3 separate regions of the Homo sapiens genome follow, and regions 1 and 2 are each linked to region 3. The links are contacts of gene promoters, found by promoter capture Hi-C in blood cells and fetal thymus (Javierre and others, 2016). All regions are on one chromosome and are shown on one strand. The core of a region is centred on a gene start or on the middle of the fragment in contact, and the rest is flanking DNA. Distances in the headings are between cores, read along the strand shown.

Evidence for each region. Contacts are between HindIII fragments. The CHiCAGO score rates a contact against its expected background, and 5 or more counts as called.
Region 1: a contact is called between the fragment with the promoter of VRK3 here and the fragment with the promoter of TPGS1 in region 3, in 1 of 17 cell types (naive CD4 T cells). The highest score is 7.1, in naive CD4 T cells.
Region 2: the fragment with the promoter of ZBTB45 here is called in contact with the fragment with the promoter of TPGS1 in region 3 in 1 of 17 cell types (M0 macrophages); the score reaches 8.7 in M0 macrophages.

Annotation. Positions count from the first base shown.
Region 1 is chr19:50,023,470-50,028,039 of GRCh38, forward strand. VRK3 (VRK serine/threonine kinase 3) reads right to left here and starts at 1,903. Exons shown (of 15, transcript NM_016440.4): 1 at 1,798-1,903. It overlaps ZNF473 (zinc finger protein 473), which reads left to right and starts at 2,536. Exons shown (of 5, transcript NM_015428.4): 1 at 2,536-2,653. RefSeq lists enhancers at 1,209-1,710, 1,760-1,839, 2,180-2,229, 2,640-2,689. The HindIII fragment of the contact is 2,425 bases long and covers 116-2,540 here.
Region 2 is chr19:58,518,041-58,522,139 of GRCh38, forward strand. ZBTB45 (zinc finger and BTB domain containing 45) reads right to left here and starts at 1,770. Exons shown (of 3, transcript NM_001316979.2): 1 at 1,702-1,770. RefSeq lists enhancers at 17-677, 1,735-2,054 and a silencer at 1,545-1,644. The HindIII fragment of the contact is 4,202 bases long and covers 1-3,709 here.
Region 3 is chr19:504,309-508,819 of GRCh38, forward strand. TPGS1 (tubulin polyglutamylase complex subunit 1) reads left to right here and starts at 3,189. Exons shown (of 2, transcript NM_033513.3): 1 at 3,189-3,536. The coding sequence starts at 3,199. It overlaps MADCAM1-AS1 (MADCAM1 antisense RNA 1), which reads right to left and starts at 3,581. Exons shown (of 3, transcript XR_936221.4): 1 at 3,068-3,581. MADCAM1 (mucosal vascular addressin cell adhesion molecule 1) reads left to right here. Exons shown (of 5, transcript NM_130760.3): 5 at 437-1,035. The coding sequence ends at 657. RefSeq lists enhancers at 2,265-3,122, 2,995-3,334 and a silencer at 2,335-2,464. The HindIII fragment of the contact is 8,539 bases long and covers 2,310-4,511 here.

The DNA.
Region 1 (4,570 bases), core at 653-3,152, about 50 Mb after region 3:
CGTGCCTGGCCCTGGACACCATTTTACTAATAGCATGTTTTATCCTCCTTACCTTGCTTTATTTTTCTTCACAGTGCTTGTCACTACCTGACATACTCTGACTTACTAGAATGTAAGCTTCATGATGGCGGGGACTTTTCCCTGCCTTGTTTGCCACAGTGTGCCCAGAGCCTCAAACAGGCCTGGCACAGAGCAAATGCTGGGTCTACGTCTGCTGAGTGAATAAATCATTGTCTCCTTTGCAAAAGAAAATGTGCCAAGAAGGTGGGTGGGGGGGGTCCCCAGCTGTGTCAGTACACATTCATCTCTCAGGCAAATCTAGACATCCAGCCAGAGACTCAAAGCTCAGGGCCGGAATTATCTAGCTGGATGGTCCCTAAAAAAGACGTGCCACTTAGAAGCAGATCAGTACAGGGGTTAAGAGGATAAACTTGGGAAATAATCTGCCTGGGTTTGGATCTTGCTTCTGCCATGTATTGCATGATGGACAGAGTTTTGCTATGTCACCCAGGTTGGAGAGCAGTGGCACGACCTCAGCTCACTTGCAACCTCCGCTTCCTGGGTTCAAGCGATTCTCCCTGCCTCAACCTCCCGAGTAGCTGGGATTACAGGCGCATGCCACCATGCCCGGCTAATTTTTTTATTTTTAGTAGAGATGGGGTTTCACCATGTTGGCCAGGCTGGTCTCGAACTCCTGAACCCAGGTGATCCGCCCACCTCGGTCTCCTAAAGTGCTGGGACTACAGGCGGGAGCCACCGTGCCCAGCCAAATTTTTTGGATTTTAGAACCTATTACATATTACAACACCGGCGAGATCCAGGGGCAACTCTCCATAAGTATATGATTTGCACAACAAAATCTTTAAAAATTCTAAATAGTCACACATCAGTTCAGAGTGGGTATTGCCAGCAAACAAGTTCAAAGCCAGGTGAGGTTGGCCTGCCAAGTAAGTTGCAAAACAGAGAAAAAGACCTTTCAGTTTTCAGAACGTTTTGGATTTTAAAGTTATAGATAAGGGACTGCAGACCTGTAAATATTCTTTAACATTTCTTTTTTAGTGTCTGGCATCCCCAACCACCCTGAGAATGTGAATTAGCTGGGCAGGATTTTTGTTTTAGACACTGCTATAATAACCTGGGCTTGAACAGTGCCTATTAGACTAGCACCGTTCAAACCCAGGTTATAGTAGTGTAATATCGGTTGCACGGAGCCTTCCATATAGTAAACGCTCAATAAAATTGGATGTGCTGAAGTCACCTATGCAATGGCCAGGTCAGGACTTGAAACCCTAAGACTCCAACCCTCAGGCCAGTCTTTATCTTAATTTATTTGACTTATTCAACAAATGTTTAGGGAACAGCTGCTATGCGTCAACTACTGTATAGTGTTCCTCCTAGAAAGTTCAGGAAACAGCACAGCAAAAAGGCTAAAAGTCAGACCCCACCTCAGCGCAGGTGGGGCGATTGCCTAGGCGACGACAGAGCCTCCCTTCGGCCGCACCTCCATAGAAACCACGGGATGACTTAGACGCCAAGTTTCACAGCGGAGGAGCTGTCGAACTTCCCACAAGTTCCGCCCATCTCCGCCTTAGCCATGCCCAACACGGAGCCCAAGGTGGCTTGGGAAGCTCAAGAGGAGGCCAGTGAACCCCGCGACCCGGAGCCGCTCTCATTCCGAACCCCGACAGCAGGGGCCTCCGCCTCCCACAAACGGTCGTGCTGACGTCACGGACGCCCCGGCCGAGCTGCGGCTAGGGGGTCGGGGGACGTCCCCTCGTTCGCCTCGCTTCCCCTCACCTCTGTACTTGGGGACTGGGGTGGGATTCTGGGCTTCTGCAGCCTGACCCTCGGATCCTCCGCAGTTACCCGGACTCACCTTCTCAGTTGCCCAGCGAAAACTTCCGCTGGGCGGAGAGCGCTGCGCGCGCATCCTGAATCTGAGGCGCCCGCGCAGGCGCCGCTGACTTCCTGACGGCCCCTGGGCTTCGCCTGCCTGGGAACTCCGTTTCCCAGATGCCTCCGCGGCAGGCCCGCCCTCTGATTCCAGACGGAATGGGGATTATTCCCTCATTGCTCATCCCCCTCCCCTCCGTTCTAGCCGCTTTGGAACGCCTTCTGGTTCTACTGCGCATGTGTCAGTGTCAGACCAATCGGAATGCACCGTGAGGTACCTCTCCACCAATCAGAGGTCACATTACCTAAACTTCTGCCTCAACTCCGCCCCTTACTTCCGCTTGTTTTCTCAGAAACCCGTCACAACGCGTTTCCATGGCAACCTACCGCTTGCTCTTCGGAAAAGGTTAACACTCCCTGACTTCTAGTAAAGGCAAGAAGCTAATTAGATGATTCTTTAACAAGGTAAAAATCTGGACTACAAACTGATGCCGCCTGGTCCTGATTCTCTTTCTACTCTACTCCCACAGTGCTAAGGCTGAAGAAGCAGGAGGAGATGGGAAGGCGAAAGAAGTCGCCCGCACAGCCCTCTGGGAAATAGAGTCCTGGCGCTGCCGCGGAGGATCCTGGGTGCAGCCGCTCAGAGAAGCTTCTCGCGCACAGGAAGTCGCTGCGAGGAGGCGCGTGTGCGGGGAGTTGAATCTCCCGCTCCCTTGAGGCTGGGGTTGCGTCTGTTGACGCGGCCGACTACAATCCCGAGGTACGGAGACGCTGGGGCTGAGGGACTTGCGGGCTCGGTCCTTCCTGAGAGGTGACGGAATGCAAGTGGGGGCGACTTCGGCAAAGGGTGCGTCGCCTTGGGCGGCGGTTGTCAGGGTGAAGGTGTGAACCGTCTTTCACAGTCTGTTATGAAAACCGCTCAAGGTCTGGGCACGGTAGATCACGCCTGTAATCCCAGCACTTTGGGAAGCCTTGGCGGGGGGGATCACTTACAGCCAGGAGTTCCTCGAACCCCCAGTCTCTACTAAAAATACAAAAATTAGTTGAGCGTGGTGGCGGGGGCCTGTAATCCCAGCTACTCAGGAGGCTGAGGCAGGAGAATCGCTTGAACCCAGGAGCTGGAGGTTGCAGTGAGCCGAGATCGCGCCATTGCACTCCAGCCTGGGTGACAGAGCGAGACTACATCTTAAAAAAAAAAAAAAAAAAAGAAAGGAAGAAAACCACCTTGGGAGGCTGAGGTGGGCGGATCGCTTGAGCCCAGGATTTCGAGGCTAGCCTGGGCCAGATGGTGAAGCCCTGTCTCCACAAAAGAAGAAAAAAATAGAAAAATTAGCCGGGCGTGGTGGTGCGCCCCTGTATTCCTAGCTAATTGGGAGGCCGAGGTGGGAGGATTGCTTGAACCCAGGAGGCAGAGGTTGCAGTGAGCTGAGAAAGAAAAGAAAAGAAAAGAAAACTGCTAAAGGGGTTTCCAGGCCTCCCTGATGGCCCTGAGAGGAGTGGTTCTGTTTTATTTTGGTTTTGGTTGGGGAAGGAGGGGAATGAGTTACCTGAAGTTGGCAAATTTAGGCAGAATCTTGCTGGACGATGGATGGGAGTTCTTCGGGAAGTTGAAGTACTTAACATTTACAGTATTTGAGTGCTTTCTGTGTGCCAGGCGCCCTGCTGGAGTTGCATTTCCTCTTCTGATCCCCGCAGCAGCACTGAGACATAAGTGCAGGTCCCCTTGGCACCAAGGCAATCTCGGGAATCAGAATTTTTCAGATTTTAGAAAGCTAATAGGGTGCATATTTTATAATTAGGCAGCACCCCCCCACACCCCGAGGAATCTGGGCCAGTTTTTGGTCATAAAATGTTTCTGTGGGGCAAGGTGTGAATATTCACACTTATGAGAACATTAAGACCCTACATGGCCTGTGGCAATCCAGGTGAAGTTTTGCGGTCAGTTTATAAATCAAGTTCTGGTTTTTGGAGCATTTAAAGGACCATAGATCTGTTGTATTTGTTCCATTTGGTACATGTGGAAACTAAGGCTTAGAGAAGGTAAATGGTCTGGAAGGAAGGGCAAGACTCTTGGGCCCAAGGTCTCTCAGCCTGATAATTGTTTGGCTTAAGTCACTCTGGGCTGGATGACCTTGGGCTCCACCTCTGGGCCCTCGTTTCTTTCCTCCCAGAGCTGAGAGTATATGAGATGTGGGCAGAATGTGATTTGGTAACTGCAGACAGGGATCTCAAGCTCAGCTGTCTGTGAGGGCCAGGCAGATGACATACAGGAAAGAAGAGAACTGGTCCAGGTGAGGCTGCGGGGCCTTGGGGAGCACTTGCCTCATCTGAAGGGGAGAATTGTGTTTTTTTTTTGATGACAGAGTCTCGCTCTGTCACCCAGGCTGGAGTTCGGTCTCACTGGAACCTCCACCTCCCCGGTTGAAGCGATTCTCCTGCCTCAGCCTCCCAAGCAGCTGGAATTACAGGCGTGCACCACCATGCCTGGCTAATTTCTGTATTTTTGGTAGATACGGGGGTTTCACCATGTTGATCAGGCTGGTCTTGGACTCCAAACTTCAGGTGATCCGCCTGCCTTGGCCTCCCAAAGTGCTGGGATGGCAGGCATGAGCCACTGCACCCAGCCGCTTTTTAAACTTAAATTTAATTTTTTTGGCCGGGTGTGGTGGCTCATGCC
Region 2 (4,099 bases), core at 520-3,019, about 58 Mb after region 3:
CTCCCCATGTGCCCCTCCAAGAGGGCAGCCCGGTGTGTAGAAGAGGCCAGGGACCCCCATCCCAACTGGCTAACCTGCCTCACCCCGAGTAGACCTTGCTCTCTACCCAGCTAGCTTCCACTCCTCCTCCACCCCTGCTGACAGCTCCTTTTGGTTTCCTTTAGCCACATCCCCCCAGTATGAGACCCTGTGCATAGGCAGGATTGCTGCCTCAGAACCAGGTCACCTTAACTAGTATATACAGAGGCTCTCGCAGGAGTGGGGTGGCATGACCTGCTTCCTGGGCAGGGTGGTTCTGGGTGTGCCTAGTCACTAAGGGCTGAGGGTAAAAGGTTGGGCAGTACCTTGGGAGATGCCCCAGGGAAACCAGTACATGCTCCCTGGCAGCCCCTAGCATAGCGAGCAGGGAGGTGGCTCCTGCAGCCCCAGCTTCTTGCCATCTCGATGGGGCCTGTGGGGCCCAGGGTGTGGGTGTGGCACAGAGAGGGGAAGTGTGGATTGAGCAGGGGTGTGTGACTGGATAGCTGCCCATGGAGTAATCGGGGACACGGCCCAACATCAGGCACCAGAAAGGGGAGGGGGTAGTCCTCAGAGGACTCTGGAATCTGAGGAGTTCTGCTACTCCATCCATCAAGCAGGTAAACCGTGATCCTTCGGCCTGTTTCCCCTTCTATCAAACAAGGGATGAGATACTCGGCTCATCCCGCACCCAGACTGCACACACCTCCAGTCTAAGGGAGGAGGGTAGGAGCTCTGGACTCTGACATCCGTATAGGCTCCACCAGCCTGTCTCTCCCTTGGAGTCACAAAGCCCCAGGGTGGGCTCGGCTTGATGCTGCCCCTACACCCTCGGGCTCTACTGGGGTCTCAAGATTCAACCCCTCCGACTCCTTATGCCCAATCCGCCGTCCCTTTGCTCAGCCAGACGCCTCCCTTTTTTGCATGCCCCACATTTGACCCTCAGACCACTTCGAGCACCTCCACTGCCCCGTTCCCGCTGTCCTGGACGGATGAAGAAACCTGGCTGGTGTCTCTGCGCCCCTCGCCTCCCCTTCTGTTCCCCACACGGCAGCCAGAGGGAGCTTTTCCAGACTACGGATCCGGATACACCACCCCGCTCCCTGGCCCTGTTCTGAGCCTTCTGTGCAATGCCTCAAAAAAGCCAGGCCTGTGCCCGCGCAAAGGCTAACTCAGCAAGCAGCACCGCCCCATCTGTATTCACCTAGCACCTGAAAGGATTCTAATCTGTCCGGCCGATGGGGACGGAAACTTGCGCATCAACCCGAGAGACTTGAACCTTCCTTTCCCGCCCCGCCCCGCGACGGGCTCCATTCCTCAGTCCCGACGCCGCAAGGCCGGCCTGGACACTTCAGAACAAAGGCCTGCACTCGAGACCCGGCGCCCAGGCCAGCTTCCCGGGTCCGGCGCCGCACACTCCCGCCACGCCTTCGCCGCGCCGTGTGCTTTACTCCGAGCGCGTTCTCCCATACTCTGCTCCATTGCCCGCGCCCCACCCTACGCCCAAAGCACCCCTCTGACCCGCCGCTGCCACCCCGCACTCTGGCCCCCGCCGTACCCCGGTCCTGCAGCGCCCCCTCGCGTTCTCAGCGTGCGCTTCTAGCGGAGCGCAGGTGCCCCTCCCCTGGCACGCCCCAGCCTCCTCGCCCGCCCTGCGGCAGGGGGATGCCCATTCGACCCCACCTCCGACTCCTCTTCAGGCACCAGGCTCTGCCGTGGCCGCTTCCTCCTGACCGACTACAAGGCCGCACTTCCGGGCCGTTACCCCGGCGGAACGGAGGCCTGCGGTCGCGGCGGCGCAGGGGAAACCCTAGGCCGAAGCACGTTTCCGGTATTTTTATGGCGATCAGCTCCCGCCAGTCTGCACTCCGGCTCTCCTCTTAGTCGGAACCAAAGTCGAAGAGGCTAGGGCTGCCGCGTCGCGAGGAATGTCTGGACCAGAGCACTCTTCCGGCGTCGCCCAGGAGATCAGGGGTGTGGCGGGCCTGCGCGATCAATCCGCAAGCTCCCTGTGATGCAGAATGGGAAGGCAGTTCCCGGCCCAAGTGCCCAACGTGTTCTGGCCAGTTTAAACCCCACTGCGAACCGGGGAAGTGGCCTTATTCCTGTGACACGGGTGAGAGCTGAAGTAGGTCTCGGTCCCTGGCCGCCAGGAGGTGCAAGCAAGCTACCACTACTGCAGACGCTCCAGGCCCGCCCGCTGTGGGTGGGACTGGGGAAAGGACCCCATCTCGGCCTTGGCACCTTCTACTACAACGCAGACAGGAATAGACAACTGCCTCACCCTGCTCTGGGCCTCCCCTGAGCTAGACCCTGTGAGATTCTGGGACATTGCAAGTCAATCTGGTATGGGGGACAGAATTCCGAAAATGGCCCCCTCCGAGATTTCCGTGCCCAAATCCCCAGAACCTGTAAATATGATTATCTCACCTATGAATAGTTACACTACATGGTGAAAGGGTTTTTGCGGAAATAATTAAGGTTACTCATTAGCTGATCTTAAAATAGGATATGATTCTGGATTATTTTGGTAGGTCCAAGGTATCATAAGGGTCCTTAAAGGCAGAAGAGGAAGGTGGAGAAACTTGAAGTAGGAGAAGGGTTCCAGAGGCTTTGAAGGTAGAGAGGTCCATGAGAGGAAATGCAACAGGACAGGTGTCATGCTGAGAATCTGAGAAGAGCTGCAACAACAGCCAGCAAGAAAACAGACCTCATGGCCCGGCGCAGTGGCTCATGCCTGTAATCCCAGCACTTTGGGAGGCCAAGGCGGGTGGATCACGTCAGGAGATCGAGACCATCCTGACTAACACAGTGAAACCCCATCTCTACTAAAAATACAGAAAATTAGCTGGGCGTGGTGGCAGGCGCCTGTAGTCCCAGCTACTCGGGAGACTGAGGCAGGAGACTGGCATGAACCCGGGAGGCGGAGCTTGAAGTGAGCTGAGATCGCGCCACTGCACTCCAGCCTGGGCGACAGAACGAGACTCCGTCTCAAAAAAAAAAAAAAAAAAAAAAAAAAAAAAAGGCCGGGCGCGGTGGCTCACGCCTGTAATCCCAGCACTGTGGGAGGCCGAGGCGGGCGGATCATGAGGTCAGGAGATCGAGACCATCCTGGCTAACACGGTGAAACCCCGTCTCTACTAAAAATACAAAAAAAAATTAGCCGAGCGCGGTGGCAGGCGCCTGTAGTCCCAGCTACTCAGGAGGCTGAGGCAGGAGAATGGCGTGAACCCGGGAGGCGGAGCTTGCAGTGAGCCAAGATAGCGCCACTGCAGTCGGGCCTGGGCGAAAGAGCGACACTCAGTCTCAAAAAAAAAAAAAAAAAAGAAAGAAAGAAAAGAAAACAGACCTTAGCCCTAGAAGTGCGTGGAGCTAGATTCCGCCCACAACCTGAATGAGCTTGGAAGCAAATTCTTCCCCAGAGCCTCCAGATAGCAGCTTAGTCCATACCACACCTTGATTTTAGCCTTTATGAGACCCACAGAAGACCTACTTGGGCTTCTGACCTATGGAATGGTGAGCTAATAAATGGATATTGTTTTAACCTATGGAGTTTTGGTAATTTGTTATAGTAACGATAGAAAACAAATACATCTGGTGAGATCCAGGGCCTCCACACAGTGAGAGTCCAATAAATGCCACTATTTGTTTCCCATCTGATGAACGCATTCCTCACATTTCCCTCACTGAAAGCTTTATTTCTGTGCCTTCCCAGCTTTTACCAGGCCCCTTCGTGATCTCATTCCTCAGGGAGCAGTTCTCACTTCCCCTATCCCAGAGGACAGAGGGACTCGGCAGTGAAAGAGGGAACCAACTGTCCAAACGCATGACTAGAACAAAGCCTCCAGAAGACAGACAGGGTCAGGATGCCTGTCCTTCACCCAGGACAGCTACTGGGTGATTGTGTTGTAGATGTGGTATTTGGAGGTCAGGGGGAGGAAAATATGTACCAGGTGGGAAACCTCATTAAAACACAAGTCTAGGCTGGGCACAGTGGCTCACACCTGTAATCCCAGCACTTTGGGAGGCCGAGGCGGGTGGATCACCTGATGTCAGGAGTTTGAGACCAGCCTGGACAACA
Region 3 (4,511 bases), core at 1,939-4,438:
GCTGGAGTGCAGTGGTGCGATCTCAGCTTACTGCAACCTCCACCTCCCGGGTTCAAGTGATTCTCCTGCCTCAGCCTCCCAAGTAGCTGGGATTACAGGCGCCTGCCACCATGTCCAGCTAACTTTGTATTTTTAGTAGGCACAGGGTTTCACCATGGTCAGGCTGGTCTCGAACTCCTGACCTCGTGATCCACCCGCTTTGGCCTCCCGAAGTGCTGGGATTTCAGGCGTGAGCCACCCCGCCTGGCCTGGACTGCCCATTTCTAAACTCTAAGGTGCTATGCGCATTTCAAAAGGGTCATGGTAAAGTCCTTTGTGAAATTTCAGGGAACGTGGTAACTTTGGAAGCACGTGTAGCCTCTGAGGGGCTCCTCCCTTCCCAAGCCTGCAGAGGCCTGGAGGGCTCTGACCGGGGTCTCCTGCACTCTCTCCCCAGCGTCCAAACCTGCGGGTGACCAGCTGCCCGCGGCTCTGTGGACCAGCAGTGCGGTGCTGGGACTGCTGCTCCTGGCCTTGCCCACCTATCACCTCTGGAAACGCTGCCGGCACCTGGCTGAGGACGACACCCACCCACCAGCTTCTCTGAGGCTTCTGCCCCAGGTGTCGGCCTGGGCTGGGTTAAGGGGGACCGGCCAGGTCGGGATCAGCCCCTCCTGAGTGGCCAGCCTTTCCCCCTGTGAAAGCAAAATAGCTTGGACCCCTTCAAGTTGAGAACTGGTCAGGGCAAACCTGCCTCCCATTCTACTCAAAGTCATCCCTCTGTTCACAGAGATGGATGCATGTTCTGATTGCCTCTTTGGAGAAGCTCATCAGAAACTCAAAAGAAGGCCACTGTTTGTCTCACCTACCCATGACCTGAAGCCCCTCCCTGAGTGGTCCCCACCTTTCTGGACGGAACCACGTACTTTTTACATACATTGATTCATGTCTCACGTCTCCCTAAAAATGCGTAAGACCAAGCTGTGCCCTGACCACCCTGGGCCCCTGTCGTCAGGACCTCCTGAGGCTTTGGCAAATAAACCTCCTAAAATGATACAAACGTGTCAGTTTTCTCAGTTGACACCCACTCCGTGGAGAGGAGAGGTCTGAGGGCTCCGGACAGCAGAGGGTTGACTGTGGGTCCTGCCCTGATGGCTCCATCTCCCTCATCCCACAGTCCGGGGCTGGAGAAGAAAGTGTTAGAAATGCTTGTTCCCCGGTGCCGTAAAGAAATAGCACTTGAATATAAATGTCATTTCCTCAGCAAGGCCACTGTTTTACTTTCTGCAGAAAGGGTACACTGGCCAGCAGTTTTGCCACGAGAGTATCCAGAACAAAGGAGACAGGGTCATTTATAACCTGACGCGTCCACCCTACTGCTCTGTCCGGTTTCCATTGGCTGGAACGGGACGGTTTCCATTGGCTGGAACGGGACCTCACATTCTGTATTTATCCCGATCGGCTAGCAGCTTGGAACTTTTAAAAAGAGGCAAAGGCAGAGGAGAACAAAGGAAGGAAGAAGTAGCTTGTGGAATGCTAAGAAAGGTAAAAACACCTTCAAATAAGGAAGAGGAACAGGTTATGACCTAATGCTTGCTTGGACCAGTATAAGCATGCCAGGGCAGATATTTAGCCTACATTGTGGGCACTAAGAACATAAAGTATGTTGATTTCCTTATTACATTATATATATTCAATATAACATTAACAATTAATTAACAAAGAATGTTAGCACAGGTCTTTTGTTTGTTTGTTTTTTGAGACAGAGTCTCGCTCTGTCGCCCAGGCTGGAGTGCAGTGGCGCGATCTCGGCTCACTTGCAAGCTCCGCCTCCCGGGTTCACGCCATTCTCCTGCCTCAGCCTCCCGAGTAGCTGGGACTACAGGCGCCCGCCACCACGCCTGGCTAATTTTTTGTATTTTTAGTAGAGACGGGGTTTCACCGTGTTAGCCGGGATGGTCTCGATCTCCTGACCTCGTGATCCGCCCGCCTCGGCCTCCCAAAGTGCTGGGATGACAGGCGTGAGCCACCGCGCCCGGCCTACCACAGGCCTTTGAATACATTTTGCTTCTAAGAGAAGTTACTATTTATTCCTAATTAGATGGGGAGGAAAGTCTCATTTGAAGAGGAACCTCTACTTCACGTTTTACAAAGGGCATTTGGTCTGCCCGCCAGAGATTCCTGTGCTGGGAGGATGGTGGAACGGTCCCCCGGCAAACAGCTCTCATTGCCCCCTGCCCGGGGCAACGCCCCTGAGGGACGGGGACGGCACCCAGCAAGCTCTGCCCGGGGCGGGGAAACGCGAGGGCTTAGTGGTTTCCTCGGTGAGAAGCTTAACCAGGAGTCCCCGAAAGCAGTGAGGGAAGATCCACAGAGGTCGCCTGGGGAAACACACCCAGAGGCGGCTTATGGAGGAGACTGCTTGTGTTTTGAGGTGGCTGCGGGCTGCGGAGGGTTGGGAGGGCCGGGAGGGCGGCCGGAAGCGAGGTCAGGCGATGAAGGCCTGGAGGTGCCAGCCCGGGGGCCCTGGAGAGCCATGGCAGAGTTTACAGCTCTGGAGGCTGCGGTGTCAGAAAGCTCCCTCTGGCGGTCAGGGGGTAACAGCGCGGGATGCTCGCCCGTGTGGCCGCCAATAGGGGCTCAGCGCAGCTGCAGCGGAGCTGGGGAGGGGGCTTCTCCCACGAGGTGAGCTACGCACTCAGACGTTGACTGAGTTAGGCGGAAGGCCAGGCTGAGCTCGACCCCCAGCACCAAGGCTCAGAGATGAACATGAGAAAAGGGTCTGGGGGCCGGGCGCGGGGCTGGGTCCAGCAGTCCTGGGCAGGTCCAGCCCCGCGCATGCTCCGTCAGGCTTCTCTGCTAACCAGGGAGACTGGTTGCTAGGAGACCATGCTAATGAAGGACTCGCTCACTACCCAAATGGCAAGCAATCCGGCTTTGTGCCAGAAACGAAGCACTTCCGAGGCAGCCATTTTGGAGTCTGGCAAAATTCAGGACCGAGGCCAAAGCCAGGAGAGCCAATCAATATACACAAAGAGGGAGGAGAAGAGAGAGTGCCAATAAGGACACAAGGAAAGTGGTAGCGTACCCTTGTCACTTCCCAAAGTCTCCCAGCGGGATACCGGTGCCCTCTGCCCTTAATCAAGATGGCCGCCTTGGGGGGGCTCTAGCGCACAGTGGAATATGGCGGTGCTTCCGGTCCCGCTGCCCTCAGCGAAGATGGCGGCAGTGGAGAAGCGGCGGCAAGCGGTACCACCGCCGGCCGGTTTCACGGACAGCGGCCGCCAGTCGGTATCCCGGGCGGCGGGGGCGGCCGAGAGCGAGGAGGACTTCCTGCGGCAGGTCGGCGTGACGGAAATGCTACGTGCGGCCCTGCTGAAGGTGCTGGAGGCGCGGCCCGAGGAGCCGATCGCCTTCCTGGCTCACTACTTCGAGAACATGGGCCTGCGCTCGCCTGTAAACGGCGGCGCCGGGGAGCCCCCGGGCCAGCTCCTGCTGCAGCAGCAGCGCCTGGGCCGCGCGCTATGGCACCTTCGCCTGGCCCACCACTCCCAGAGGTGCGCAGTGGGCCGGCTTGGGCGGGTGGGGCAGCGATGGACTTCAACTCCCAGCATGCCGCGCGCGGCTCCCTACCCGCAGCGCCGGCGCAGGGGCCCGGGGCTTGCTGGGAGTTGTAGTGCGCGATGCCTTCTTGGGTGGGATGGATCGGACAAGGTGGGCTGGAGGGTCCGGGCTTCGGTCCGGCGCTAGGCAGCGCGCTGCATGCGGCGCGAGTCCTTCTGGCCGGCTTCGCCTTCTGTGATGCCTTTTTGCAGGTGCTGAGTTTCCCCTTGCAGTTCATGATTTTCAAAATCGTGCAGCTCAAGAGGACTTGGCCCGAGGTCGCAGAGCCAGCCCCCGAGCCAGGTCCTCCTAGTCGCCTCCTTAGCAGCCTCATGTTATCCCCGTCCATTCAGCCAGAACGTGAATATTTACAGAGAGCAGCGCAGTCACCCAGGGCCCCCATCTTAGGGGACAGGCTCCCAGCGGGCAGGTGGGGATTCCTGGAAGAGCCTGGCGATGTGCGGGCGGGTTGCAGGGAAGAGGCCCAGCAGGTGCAAATTTAGACCCCGAGTGTGGGGCACACGGGAGGCGGGAAAGCCACGGAATTTGGCTGAAGCATGCGAGGCTGCAGGTGCCTACGCGCGGTGTCCCCTGGCTGGGGCCAGTTCTGAGCCCAGGGAAGGTGGTTGGGGACTATCTGTTGGCGTTGGGGATGGATGGGCTGATGTCTTTTGTTGGGGGGGGGGTCCCCAGAAGCGGAGCCTGAGGTAGGCATTGTGTGTGCAGGTGATTTTACAAGGGGGTGCGCCCAAGAGAACCCAGGAAGGGGGTGGGAAGAGCAGGCAGGGAAGGATGCCAAGCAAAGGTGCCCTTTCAGCCTCATAACCAGGGCATAAGCGCCCACCATGGCAGCCCTCGCCAGAGTCCCAGAGAAGTTCGGGGGGAGAAGAGAGATGGGGAGTGTCCCCCCTACCACGTTCAGGGTGCAC